2 separate regions of the Homo sapiens genome follow, and region 2 is linked to region 1. Evidence: promoter capture Hi-C in 16 types of primary human blood cells and fetal thymus (Javierre and others, 2016). All regions are on one chromosome and are shown on one strand. Each heading gives the region's core, a stretch centred on a gene start or on the middle of the fragment in contact. The rest is flanking DNA. Distances are from core to core; before and after follow the strand shown.

Region 1 (5,724 bases), core at 1,698-4,197:
AAAGCCATGATTCCAAATGAGCCGAGGAGCTCTTCTGTCTCCTGGGCCTGTGGCTCCAGGGACACTCAGATATGCAAAGGCGTCTTGAACAGCCAACACGCCCACCCAAAGCTGGGAGAGACTGGGCTGCAAACAAGCCTCAGTCTCACCCCTGTCTTGGAGAAGCTCCCATCCTGGAGGGGAAGAAAGAATCTGGGATCAAGGGAAAGCCAGGTGCAGGGCACAAAATTCAGGGTGTTGGGAAGGTGTGTGCGTGGTGGGACAGCTGACTGCTGTTCATCTCCCTGGCTTCTCCCATGGCTGTGCCAGGAAAGTTACTACTCTCATGGCCTCGGCTGTCACGATCACCCCCATTTTACAGAGAGGGAAGTGGGGCCTTAGCAGGGGACGTGTCCCAGGTCTCCTGCTGGGCAGCGTTGGTACTGGGCTCAGTCCATTTGGCCTCACCCAGCCACTCTCGACACTGCCCCCTCCACACTGTAGGGGCAGGATGTCCTCTGCTCAGGCTTCACGCAGCACCCCGGGAGGGCCGTGAGCCCCTCTGCCCACGTGGGGATCCCTGGGGCAGATGTGTGAGCTGCTTAGGGAGAGATCTGCCCACATCCCTGCCTCTTTGTGTCCCAGCCCCTCCTGGAGGGAGGCTGGTGCCCAGTGGCGTGGCAGAGGGGATTTGCTTTGAGGGGCCCTTAATGGCTGCTCATGGGTTGCAATTACAATTAAGAATTGAACTCTGACCCTGCACGTGGGTTGGGAGGGTGGGACGTGGAGCCCAAGGGAGTGGCCCAGGGAGTCAGGCTTGCGTCTCTGCTGGGTGACCTTGGGCAAGACGCTTGCCCTCTTTGTGAAATGGGTCTGATAATGGCTCTGGGAGTGGGGATAGGGAGGGGCGGAGACCTGGCCTGACTCACAGTAGTCATCTTGGGTGTCGAGCCCCTGGGCAGGGGCCCTGTGTGTGTGTGTGTGGGAAGGGGGGGGTGGTGTTCCAGGCGTGAGGATGCCCTGGGCACAGCCACTTGTCCCAGGAGCTGTCAGAATCTTAGACCCAGAGGAGCCCTGAGGTGTTCCCGTCCATTCCCTTGCCCCTTTCTAGGCCACCAGAGTAAGGCCTCGAGGGAGGGATGTCTCAGGCCCCATTCCTCTTGGGACAGCTGAGTGGTCTCTGAGGGTGGGAGCTGGTTTGAGGCTTCTTCCGCAGCTGGCTTGGGCTTCCCCATCTGGGAAATGGAGCAGGGGCAGGTGGGGAGCTGAGTCATTTCCCTCCTTGGTCACTCGGAGGGAGAAGAAGGAAGTTTCCTGAGAGCTTTTGGTCCCCTGGGAGGCTGTTTCTCCCAGGAGGAGGAGGAAACCAGGACACAGTGTGCCAGGCAGGGCAGGGTGGGGGCTGCAGACTTCTGCGATGCCCCTTCTTTCTCCACTGCAGCCCTAAGTTGAGGACACACCTGATTCTGCGTACTGGCTCCACCATCTGGTAGTTCTGTAATTAAGCAAGTGACCACCCCTCTGTGCCTCAGTTCCTTCATCTGTAAAATGGAGCCAATGAGCTTATCCACCACAGATGGCCGCAGTGGTAATGAAATAATTCTAGCTGGGTCCATAGCACAGAGCTCAGAACATATTGAGTGCTCCGCCTGGCTGTTTTACCAGCCAAGTCAAGTGCTAAGCACTTTAGGTAGACTCATCTCATTTAATCCTTGCTACAGCCCCATGAGTGTAGTGATTTCTACTGACAACAGGGAAACAGAGGCACTGAGTGGTGAAGTGACCTGTCCCACAGCTAGTCAGTTGAGGTGGGATTCAAACCCAGGGCAGACTGATGTCGGTGAGTGCTGGGCTGGATTTCACCCACCAGCTGCCTGGGGCCAGGATCCTAGGGCTGGTGGGGCCTGCAGATCACTCTGCTCTGAGCCGCCAGCAATCTGGGTGCGGGCCAGAGAGCCGTCCTCCTCGGTTAGAATCCTGCAGCCAGTCTCCCTGCTGTGCAGACACATAATTATATTTCACATTAAAGGGGAAGCTGGAGGCCAAGGGGGCCAAGGAGCCCTTTGAGGCTCATGCTCTGGGCACAGACTGGCCTCCTCGGCCCAATTCTGAGGCCCTAGGGCCGAGCTGGGGGTCAGACTGGTGACAAAATGGAGTTCCCCTGGGTCAGTGTCCAGGCGAGCAGGTCTGTCTGCCAGGATGAAAGACTTGGCCCCTGCGGGAGGCTCAGAGATATGAGGCCCAGACAATAGGCCTCAGAAAGCTGGGAGGGCAGGGCATTTGGGGACAGGTTGGGAAGAAAGCCTGAGCCTCCAGAGACAGGGGCTCGAAAGAGAAGGGGGTCACATGGGGATCCGGTCGGCAGAGAGAGGTCCAGGGAGGAGCACAGAGAAGGCAGGAGATGGGAGAAGCCAAGCAGCTCAAGATGGAGAGGAGAAAAATGCTATTAGGGTGGGATGGTGTGTGTAGAGGGTGCGTGCCTGGTGTGCAGGGGAAAAGGGCTCTGTGGGAATGCACAAGCTTAGACCTGTGTGTGCGTATGCACACGTGCAGATGCCATCCTGCATGTGCACATATGAGCGAGTGTGCACATGTGCCCCTGCGAACATCATGCATGTGGGGGCATGTATCCTGCATGTTTATGCCTGTGTGTGTGCTCGCCATGCACCTGTGCGTGCGCGCGTGTCCCCGGCGGACGTGCCTGCATGTGTGTGTATGTGTGTGTGCGCGCATGTCCCCGGGAAGTCGTGCCTGTGTGTGTGTGTGTGTGTGTGTGTGTGTGTGTGTATATATATATGTGTGTGTGCGCGCGCGCGTCCCAGTGCGCAAGTGGCTGGCGGTGTGTGTGTAGGGGGCGGCCCGGGACTAGGAGGGGCTCGGGGCCAGGCCGGAGCCGTGGTAGGCTGGTGCAGCGGCTGCGCGGCGCGGCGCGGCGCGGGGCGGGCGTGCTCTCCGCGGAGAGTTAGAGGAGTTGCCGAGCTGAGCTCCGGTGGAGCGAGGCGCGGAGCTGGGTGCGCGCCGAGCCTCTGCCTCCCGCCGCCTCCTCGCCCTCCATTCCTCGCTCCCCGTCTTCTCCCGGCCACACCGCCACTGCTGCCGCCTCCCTGGGAACAGTAGCCGGGGGAGGGGGACTGGCGCGGTCAGAGCCTGCGAGGAGGTGCGGGGCGCCGGGGCGTAGGGGAGCGCGCCGGGCCCTGCCCGAGATCAGATAACAGCCGGCGGGGGAGGGGGTGGGCCGGCCGTGCTCACAGCCGGACCGAGGGACCGACGCCAGCCGCCCCGGCCCAAGCGAGCGCCCAGCGGCCGGGGGCGCCGTCCAGGCGCGCGCCCCCGACCCGTGGCTGGACCAGGGCGATCCGCTTTGCAGAGAAGACGCGCCCCTCGGCATGGAGCGCCCCCGGGAGCTGCCCTGAGGCGGTGGCGGCAGCGGCGGCGATGCAGCCAGCGCGGCAGCTGCCGGGGCCAGGAACGGCCGCCCGGAGCTTGGAGGACGCCGAGCGCGCCGCGCCCGGGCCACTGACCGAGGTAAGTGCGCGGCCGCGGGCGCATGGTCCCTCCCGGGCCCGGCCCCAGTTCCCCGCAGGCCGCGCCTCGCCACTAGCCCGGCCCGGAGCTAGCACGAGGTTGTGCAGCAACAGGGAAGGTGGAGCGGGAGGGTGTTTTCTTCCTCTCGTTTTATTTTTTTCCCTCCCTTGGTGAGACATCGGAGGAAATGCTGACTGCGAGCTTTTCTTTTCCTGCCATGTCTCCGGCTACCACCACAAGGAACTTTGCTCCTGGCTAACCTTCGTCCTGGGGGGCGCTCCGGGAAACTTTGAGGAGCCCTCGGCCCCCCTCTGACTGGTTTGCACTAGGGGGCTCGGGAGGGAGCGTGCGGAAGCACTCTGGCGCGCGGCACGGGTCCTACGCGTGACCTTCCCGGAGACCCCGCGATCGAGGTGGGGTTCGGAGGTGGGCGCCCGGGCTATATGAGCCGCCCCGAGAATGCCTCCCGTCAGAGACCTGCGGGTTCTTGGAGTCGTGTCTCTTTCTCACCTCCCGTGCTGTAATGGAGTAAAAATATTCTGGAAATGATTCCATGCCAGCAAGTCAGCCAAGTCCAGAGGCTCCCTTTTGCTTTTAGAAGTCGGCCTTGATCTCCGAGGGGATGGCCGCTGGCTGAGAAGCTCCCAGGGTTTCAGGGCCAGGGTCCACCCTGCGCGCGCACGGCCTCTCCGGGTGCCCTGGGGGAGCGGGGCGGGAATCAGGGGCTCATGGGCAGAGACAGCTGGGGTGGGGCGCTCCTTGGGGGGTTCAGATGGGAGTTGAGGCCCAAGCGAGTGTCTGTGCCTCGGTTTTGATCCAGCGTGCCCATGTCATGTGAATATTTTAAAACCTGTGATCAGAATGGGGGTCAAAGTGTTTCTTTGGGGACGGTCTTGTTCTGGGAGGTTTTCCTGCCTCCTCACAGCCTGGACTCGCCCGCACCTGGGACCTCCCCCTCCCCATTTCCCAGGGGGCGTTCCCATCTTAGAGTACCGCGCTGCCTGTGGCCATTTCTAGTTTCTTTTTTGCTCCCCTATACCCAGGTTCGAGCCCTGCAATAAAGCGCTGGGGACCTCCTGGCTCCCACATCTGCGCCCCAAACCCAGGTTCACAGGCTCCGTCTCCGAGAGCGCCGAGGCGCCCACACGCCACTGAAATCGGCAGCCGCCTTTGGAAGGTGCGAACCCGGAAGGCGTTAGCCTTGGGCCTAGCCTTCGCCCCCTCTGAGATGCCAAAGGAGAGCCGGTCCCTGGCCGCGCGGCTGGACCCCAGCCTCCCTCGCGCTGCGCTGCACCTCCGCGGCCCCTCCTCGCGCAGCTCCGCCCTGGACCGCCGCCCTGTGGCGGGCGAGGGTCAGAGAGGGGAGGTCCATCTCAGCCCTGGGCGCCACCAGAGGCTTTCGCTCTTTTTGAGGGGTACTCCCTTCTGTATTCTGAGAAGAGCCCCTCAGTGTCTGCTGGGACCGCCCCCCCCAACAAAAGACTTCACAGCGAAGTCTGCCCCTCAGTTCTCTGGTGGCACCTCCAACCAGACAGGGGACCCGAGGTTGGCAGCTCTAGGAGGGGGACCCTGGGGGCCTGCCATTTGGTGGGGCCAAGCCGCCTGAGAGAGAGCAGGGAGTGAGGGCGGAGGGCACTCACTCGAGCACCCTGGAGACGAGGAGGGTGGCTCCAGTGTGCTGGGCCACAGGGACACCCCTCTTCTCCACTGGAGGGCCGCTGTAGGCATACAGTAGGCAGTCTGTAAATGCTGGCTGTTGACCCAGAGCTGGCAGGTAGGGGCTCCAAGTCCTCTATCACCTCCTTTTTCCCCTCCCAGGGGAGGGCATGGCTGACACCCCTCATCCCCAGCACTGAAGGGGGTGGAGCCTTCTCTGGGAGGGGCAGGACCTGAGCTGTCAGTCCATCTCTGGACACTCCCCCTGCAGCTACCCCGTCAAAACCCCATAAGGTTTCCAGGCTGCCCCGGAGGGGACCCCTCCAGGAATGTGCCTCAACTGTGCTGGAAGGAAGAGGTGCCTGGGAAGTGGTGGAGGGGTATTGCCTAAAACCATGCAGTGGGTTGGGTTTGGACAGATGCCTTCACCTAGCTCTTTCCAGGCCAGGCGCTTACCCCACCAGCCTTCCTGCCCCAGGGCCATGGTGTCCCCATCCCTGGGTCTCCTTGAAGCAGGACAAAGTAACACTGAGTGGCCCTGCAACAGCAAAATAATAATGACAG
Region 2 (5,724 bases), core at 2,089-4,588, 55 kb before region 1:
ATCTGTAATCCAAGCTATCTGGGAGGCTGAGGCAAGAGAATCGCTTGAACCTGGGAGGCAGAGGTTGCAGTGAGCTGAGATCGAGGTGCTACACTCCAGCCTGGGGGGCAGAGTAACACTCCGTCTCAAAAAAAAAAAAAAAAAGAAAAAAGAAAAAAATGCAGCAGACAGGCCTGCTCAGGAGCAGGGAGGCTGCGGAGGGAGGATTTGGCGAATTCCCTTCTAGAGGCCAGGGCGTGAAGCCTCTCCTCCAGATCCCTGCTGCAGCTACCGTCTTCGGTGGGGGCCTCCTCATGGTCCACAGTGCCCCACCCCGGGCGCCCACCCCTGCCTCCCCTGTACCCTGTGCCTGGCTCCCTGCGCTTCACCCCGAGCCTGGCGGTGCAGGGCCTCTGCAGGAGCTGTCTTGTTCTCCTCCCGGAACGCTCTTCCCCGGATGTGCTCCCGCTTTGGGGTCTGCTCAGATGCCTCCCTGACCACACTTGTCCTGCCGCACTTTCTTCACATTTATTCATTTTCATTCTTGCCCACTGGCCGCCTCCCCCGCAAGACCAGGAGGAGCCGGCCTTGCTCACAGGAGACAGGGCAGGTGCAGGAAGGCTGCCGCAAGGCCCAGCGCAGGCAGCAGGCAGCAGGGCTGTGCGGGAGGTGGTCTGGGGACAGTGCTGCCATTCCGTTTATTCCGGGGGTCTGCTCTGGGAAGGCTTTCCAGGAGCGAGCCGATACTGAGCCGATAGGCGCGTTGTGCTGGCTGAGGACTCTGCACCTCAGAGAAGGGAAGCCAGGAGCTCCAAGTCAAACAGCAGGCAGCACCCGTGCCGGGGGTTAGCGTCCCGGCTGCGCTCCCGCTCCCATGCCCTCCCTCGGGGCCGAGCTCTGCTTCTGAGGGCGGAGCCCAAGGAGGCCCGTGCTGCCCACCTGGCGGCTCAGGCTCCAGCAGCCCCGAAACTGTGGTCAAGTCCCTCTTCCCCCAGGGAATCGGCAGGGGCCGGAAGGATTGAATATGTCCCCCAAGCTGCTGTGTTGGGAGGTGGGGCCTCACAGCAGGATTAGATCCTGGGGGCCTGCCCTCCTGAATGGATGAATGCTGCCAGCCATCTCCCAGTGGGTTAGTTACCGAGGGGGTTGGTTGTAATAAAAGGGCGTTTTGCCCTCCCCTGCTGCCTCCAGCACTCTCTTGCCTTTCGGCCTTCCTTCAGCCATGGGAGGACACAGCAGGGAGGCCTTGTCAGATGCCGGCCTGGATCTTGATTTCCCAGCCTCCAGAACCCTGAGAAATTTCTGTTGTTTAGAAAGTACCCAGTCTGGGCTGGGCACATGGCTCACACTTGTAATCCTAGCACTTTGGGAGGCCAAGGCGGGCGGATCGCTTGAGGCCAGGAGCTCACGACCAGCTGGGGCAACATAGCAACACCTCATCTGTACAAAAAAGCCAGGTGTGGTGGTGCATGTCTGTAGTCCCAGCTACTCCAGGAGCTGAAGTGGGAGGATTGCCTGAGCCCAGGAGTTCGAGGCTGCAATGAGCGGTGATTGCCACTGCACTCCAGCCTGGGTGACAGATTGAGACCCTGTCTCAATTTAAGAAAAGAATGAAGAAGAAATCATCCAGTTTGTGGTATTTTGTTATAGCAACAATGAAACAGATGAATACAGGCCCCCAACACCAGCATTATCTCATCCTGGTTTCCCTGTGGGCAGGGGCTGTGGTGGGCAGGCAGGACCAGTCACCTCATCTTCCAACAGGGGCTTCGCATCTGACCACACCTCTCCCTGATGCACCAATCCTCTCAACCACACCCCCACCAAGGCCTGCTGGCCTCTGCTTGCATACCTGCCCTGATGGGGAGCTCACTCCCATACAGACGCGATTCCTGGAGGGATCTGGGTTCCATCTTCTTTTCCCTGTTCTAGTTCCCCAGGCCTGTGACGTGAGGGGCCCATGTGTAAACCCTGGCTCACTCTCAATGCTCATTTCTTTGCCTCTTGTGAAAGCTGTTGCAAATCCTTTTGGAAACCAGGTGGGAGGGTCTATATATACACTGGCTGTACTATGTTTATCAGAGCTTGTGTATCTTCACGCCCAGGGCAGCCGGCTTCTCCTGGAGGTTACAGAGGCTCAGCGAGGCTCTGACCCCTCCTGAGGCCACCAGAGAGTGAGGCAGAGCCAGGGAAGCCCAGAAACCCAGGCGTCCTGCCCCTAGTCCCTACCCCCAGCTGAGGCTCTGCCCAGCCCCAGTGAGCCACCTGCCAAGCCAGGTTTAGCTGCAGCCACCCCCTCTGTCCTCGCAGAAGCCGTGGGCTGCTCTATTCCTGTTCTGGGCCAGCCTTATTGGGGACTTGAGTTGGGGAGGCCTGGCGAGGCAGCAGCAGCTGCAAGCTCTGGTTGGGGATGGGGGAGTTGCTCTGTGAACTAGCCTAGGAAATTCTTTCCTTGTCTGCCTCCCAAACCCTCCATGGCTCCCTATTCCCACAACATCCAAGGAAAAGGAGGCACAGCATGAACTTGACAGCAGGGCCTTATCTGGGTTGTTCTCCACAGGGTTTGGCCCATGGCACGTGTTATCTGAGCACCTTCTATGTGCCACGTTGTGTTCTAGAACCAGAGCTGTACCAGGGCTCAGACAGACCTGGACCTGCTCAGCCAGGGTGTCAGGCAGGGAGGAGGCACCCACCTTCGCGGAAAGCTGTGCTCCCCCCATTCTTCCAGCATCACCCCATGATCACTCCCTAAGGAGAAGCAGTGAACTCTAAGTTAATTAGCAAAGTCATTTAAACTAGTTAAGCTTAATTACCATTAAATGATTACATTTAATTAATTAATTTTTTTACATTTGAATTTAAAAGCCCCTGGGGCAGGCAGGGATTTTCTGCCACCCAAGAGACCAAGGGGTTGAAGGACAGATGGCACGGGCCCTGCAGGCCATGGCAGAGAGGCTGAACTTCATATTCAGGGCAAAAGTCACTGGAGGGCTGTGAGCCGGGGAGAGATGTCATCTGATTGCATTAAGAACAACAGCAGCGCAAGATCACACCTGTTTGCCCTCAGAGCCCTACTCCGTGCCTCTTCAGCCCCCACTGTCCCCAGCCCTTGGGTCAGACAACCTTGAATTTGACACTTTCACCCCAGGTTGTATGACCTTGAAGATGTCACTGCACCTCTCAGAGACTCAGTTTCCTCATCTGCAAATTGGGGCAGGATCTGGCAGGATTGCAGGTGGTTTCAACAGAACCCTGCAGCATGGAACAGGCTGGCACACAGTAGGTACTCCATGAATAATGCTGTCCCCCTGGTCCCTGCCTCCACTGCCTCCTCTTGGGCCAAACCCAAGTTTATTCTGCTTCCTATAGTTGCCTTCAACTACAATCTGTCCCCGTGGGGTCCCTCAGGATGCACATCCATGGCAGAGCTGGGCTTGCCCTTAAACCTTGGGCTAGGAGGCTGGAGGCATCTGTCCTGGGACTCTGAGATTTCACAGGCTGTGCTTGTAAGTGGGCACAGACCTGCCGTCTTGGAGTCCTGGAGCCCTGATTGGAGCTAGGGCAGAGCCTGGCCAGGTACCCAGACCCCCTCCTGGGGCCCACTTGGTCCCTTCTGTCTGTGGATGACTTTCAGCGAGTCACCACGTCCCTCACGGTTTGGTTGCTGTGAAGTGGAGCGGAGGGGTCAAGGTTGCTTGCGTGAGTGCAAAGCCAGCCAGCTGAGGCTGGTGTTCCTCAGGAGCATCCATCCAGCCGAGAGAGGAGACTTGGAAGTGTATATCCTGCGCCATCTCCAAGGGATGGAGCTCCAGTTGCACCCAGCGGTAGCTCTGTTGATGACATGGCCTTGGTTGGCTCTTCCCTGTCTCACTTCTCCACTTCCCTATGGGTATTTCCTAGGATTTACTTGAGTCCAAAGCTTCTCAGTGTCTGAGAGTGTACTGGGAGAACCCAAGGAGACAGCGCCTCTGAGAATCATGGTGGGGAGAACAGGACCTGATGACGAAGTGCTCGGCAAATGACGCCTGATGTTACAGGGATCCTTGCTGACCCACTGGACCACGCCCTCCACACCAGCGCTGGTGGTTCCCCACAGTCTGAGGTCTACTTCCCCCAGCTTCTCTCGCACCTTTAGACTTCTCTGTGGCACTGCTTTCTCCTCTCCTCACCATCTCAGCTCCTCCCTCCTGTTAGCTGTGTGGCCCTGGGCAAGTCACTGCCCCTCTCTGATTCTCCACGTTCTCAGTCCCGTGGCGGGGACCTGACACCCTCTCTGGGCAAATGCCAGCATGCTTTGCTAAGCAGTCCTATCCCAGGTCTTGTGGTGTCTGCCAGAAATCTCCGGGAGGCAGAGGATGAAGGCCTGGGCGTTAGTGTGCCTGGTTGGAGGTCCTGGGGACGAAGGCTGCTGGGGTGGGGGTATTGCACTCCTGGTTGAAGGTCCTGGGGAAGTGTTTGTGGGGCTGTCACTCATTCATCTTGTTAGGCCAAGGTGTGAGGAGGTGGGCCGAGGTGGGTGGGGGAGGTTGACGTTGTGGAAATCACTGAGGGCCTGGAAAGCTGCTGCGAAGAGTCCGGGACTCCTGGGCATAGAGTAATGTTGGTGCCTTGACCAGAGCCTACAGACCTCCTTACTGGGACAAGCCAGCTCCCCGCCTGCTCTGTGCTGTGCTGCTAACCCTTGCATCTCAAACCTGCTTCAGGGAAGTATGCAGCAGAAAAGCCTAGCCCCTTGCCTTAAGGCAGGACAAACTCAGAGGCATAATTTGTGCTGCAGAGCTCCCTTGGGCTCAGGCCACGGCAGGGATGGAAATTGAAGAAACCCTTGCTTGTCTTCTCCTTCTTTTTCCCTGGCTCCCTCGCTGGTTTCAGCTGGAAGAAACTCCCTAGGGAAACATTTGCACCTGAATCCTGCTCTCAGGCTCGGCTTCTGGGAGAACCTGACATGAGACAACCTGCTGGCCCTGGGCACCACAGGCGTGTTTTAATAGAATGAGTTTATTGGTTAGAATGCAGGCTCGGTTACTTATTAAAAAACAAAACCGGCCGGGCGCAGTGTTTCATGCCTGTAATCCCAGCACTTTGGGAGGCTGAGGTGAGCGGATCACTTGAGGTCAGGAGTTCGAGACCAGCCTGGCCAACATGACGAAACCCCGTCTCTACTAAAAAATGCAAAAATTAGCCAAGCGTGGTGGCCGGCGCCTGTAATCCCAGCTACTCGGGAGGCTGAGGCAGGGAGAACTGCTTGAACCCGGAGGCGGAGGTTGCAGTGAGCCCAGATCGCGCCACTGCACTCCAGCCTGGGCGACCCAGCAAGACTCCGTCTCGAAAAACACACAAACAAACAAACAAACACCAAAACCCAAGTTAATGATGGTTTAAACAAGGTAGACGATTATTCGCTCCTGTAGCAGTCAGTGGTTCACGGTGGCGACGGCGGACTGAGTTCTATCCCTTTTCTGCCCTGCCGGGTGTGGGTTCATCCACTTCCTCGCGCCGCTCGCACCCCATTGGCAGTATTGGGTCACATGGCCAGCCGTGGCCGCAAAGGACGTTGGGAAATGTAGTCTTCATAAGGGAGCCAGTCGCTCCCGGGACAGTGGGGTCCACGGCTGCGGGAGGGGAATAGAGGTGGGGACTGTCATTCCCTCTGCAGGGAGGGAGCACAAACTTTAAAGCGGGGACAAGATTCTTTTAGAAAGAATGGTCTTCGTGTAAGAAAATATGCAGAGGATTCTGTGTCTG

What was found. The method cuts DNA at HindIII sites, captures the fragments that hold promoters and counts their contacts. A CHiCAGO score of 5 or more calls a contact.
Region 2: a contact is called between a fragment that was not itself captured here and the fragment with the promoter of KCNJ12 in region 1, in 1 of 17 cell types (megakaryocytes). The highest score is 6.3, in megakaryocytes.

Annotation. Positions count from the first base shown.
Region 1 is chr17:21,373,410-21,379,133 of GRCh38, forward strand. It overlaps KCNJ12 (potassium inwardly rectifying channel subfamily J member 12), which reads left to right and starts at 2,948. Exons shown (of 3, transcript NM_021012.5): 1 at 2,948-3,504. RefSeq lists an enhancer at 1-671. The HindIII fragment of the contact is 5,395 bases long and covers 2,498-5,724 here.
Region 2 is chr17:21,317,650-21,323,373 of GRCh38, forward strand. No RefSeq gene overlaps it. Among named protein-coding and RNA genes, the nearest start is that of MAP2K3, 36 kb to the left of the region's middle. RefSeq lists enhancers at 211-887, 888-1,564, 5,082-5,724, 5,209-5,258, 5,269-5,378 and 1 more. The HindIII fragment of the contact is 1,115 bases long and covers 2,782-3,896 here.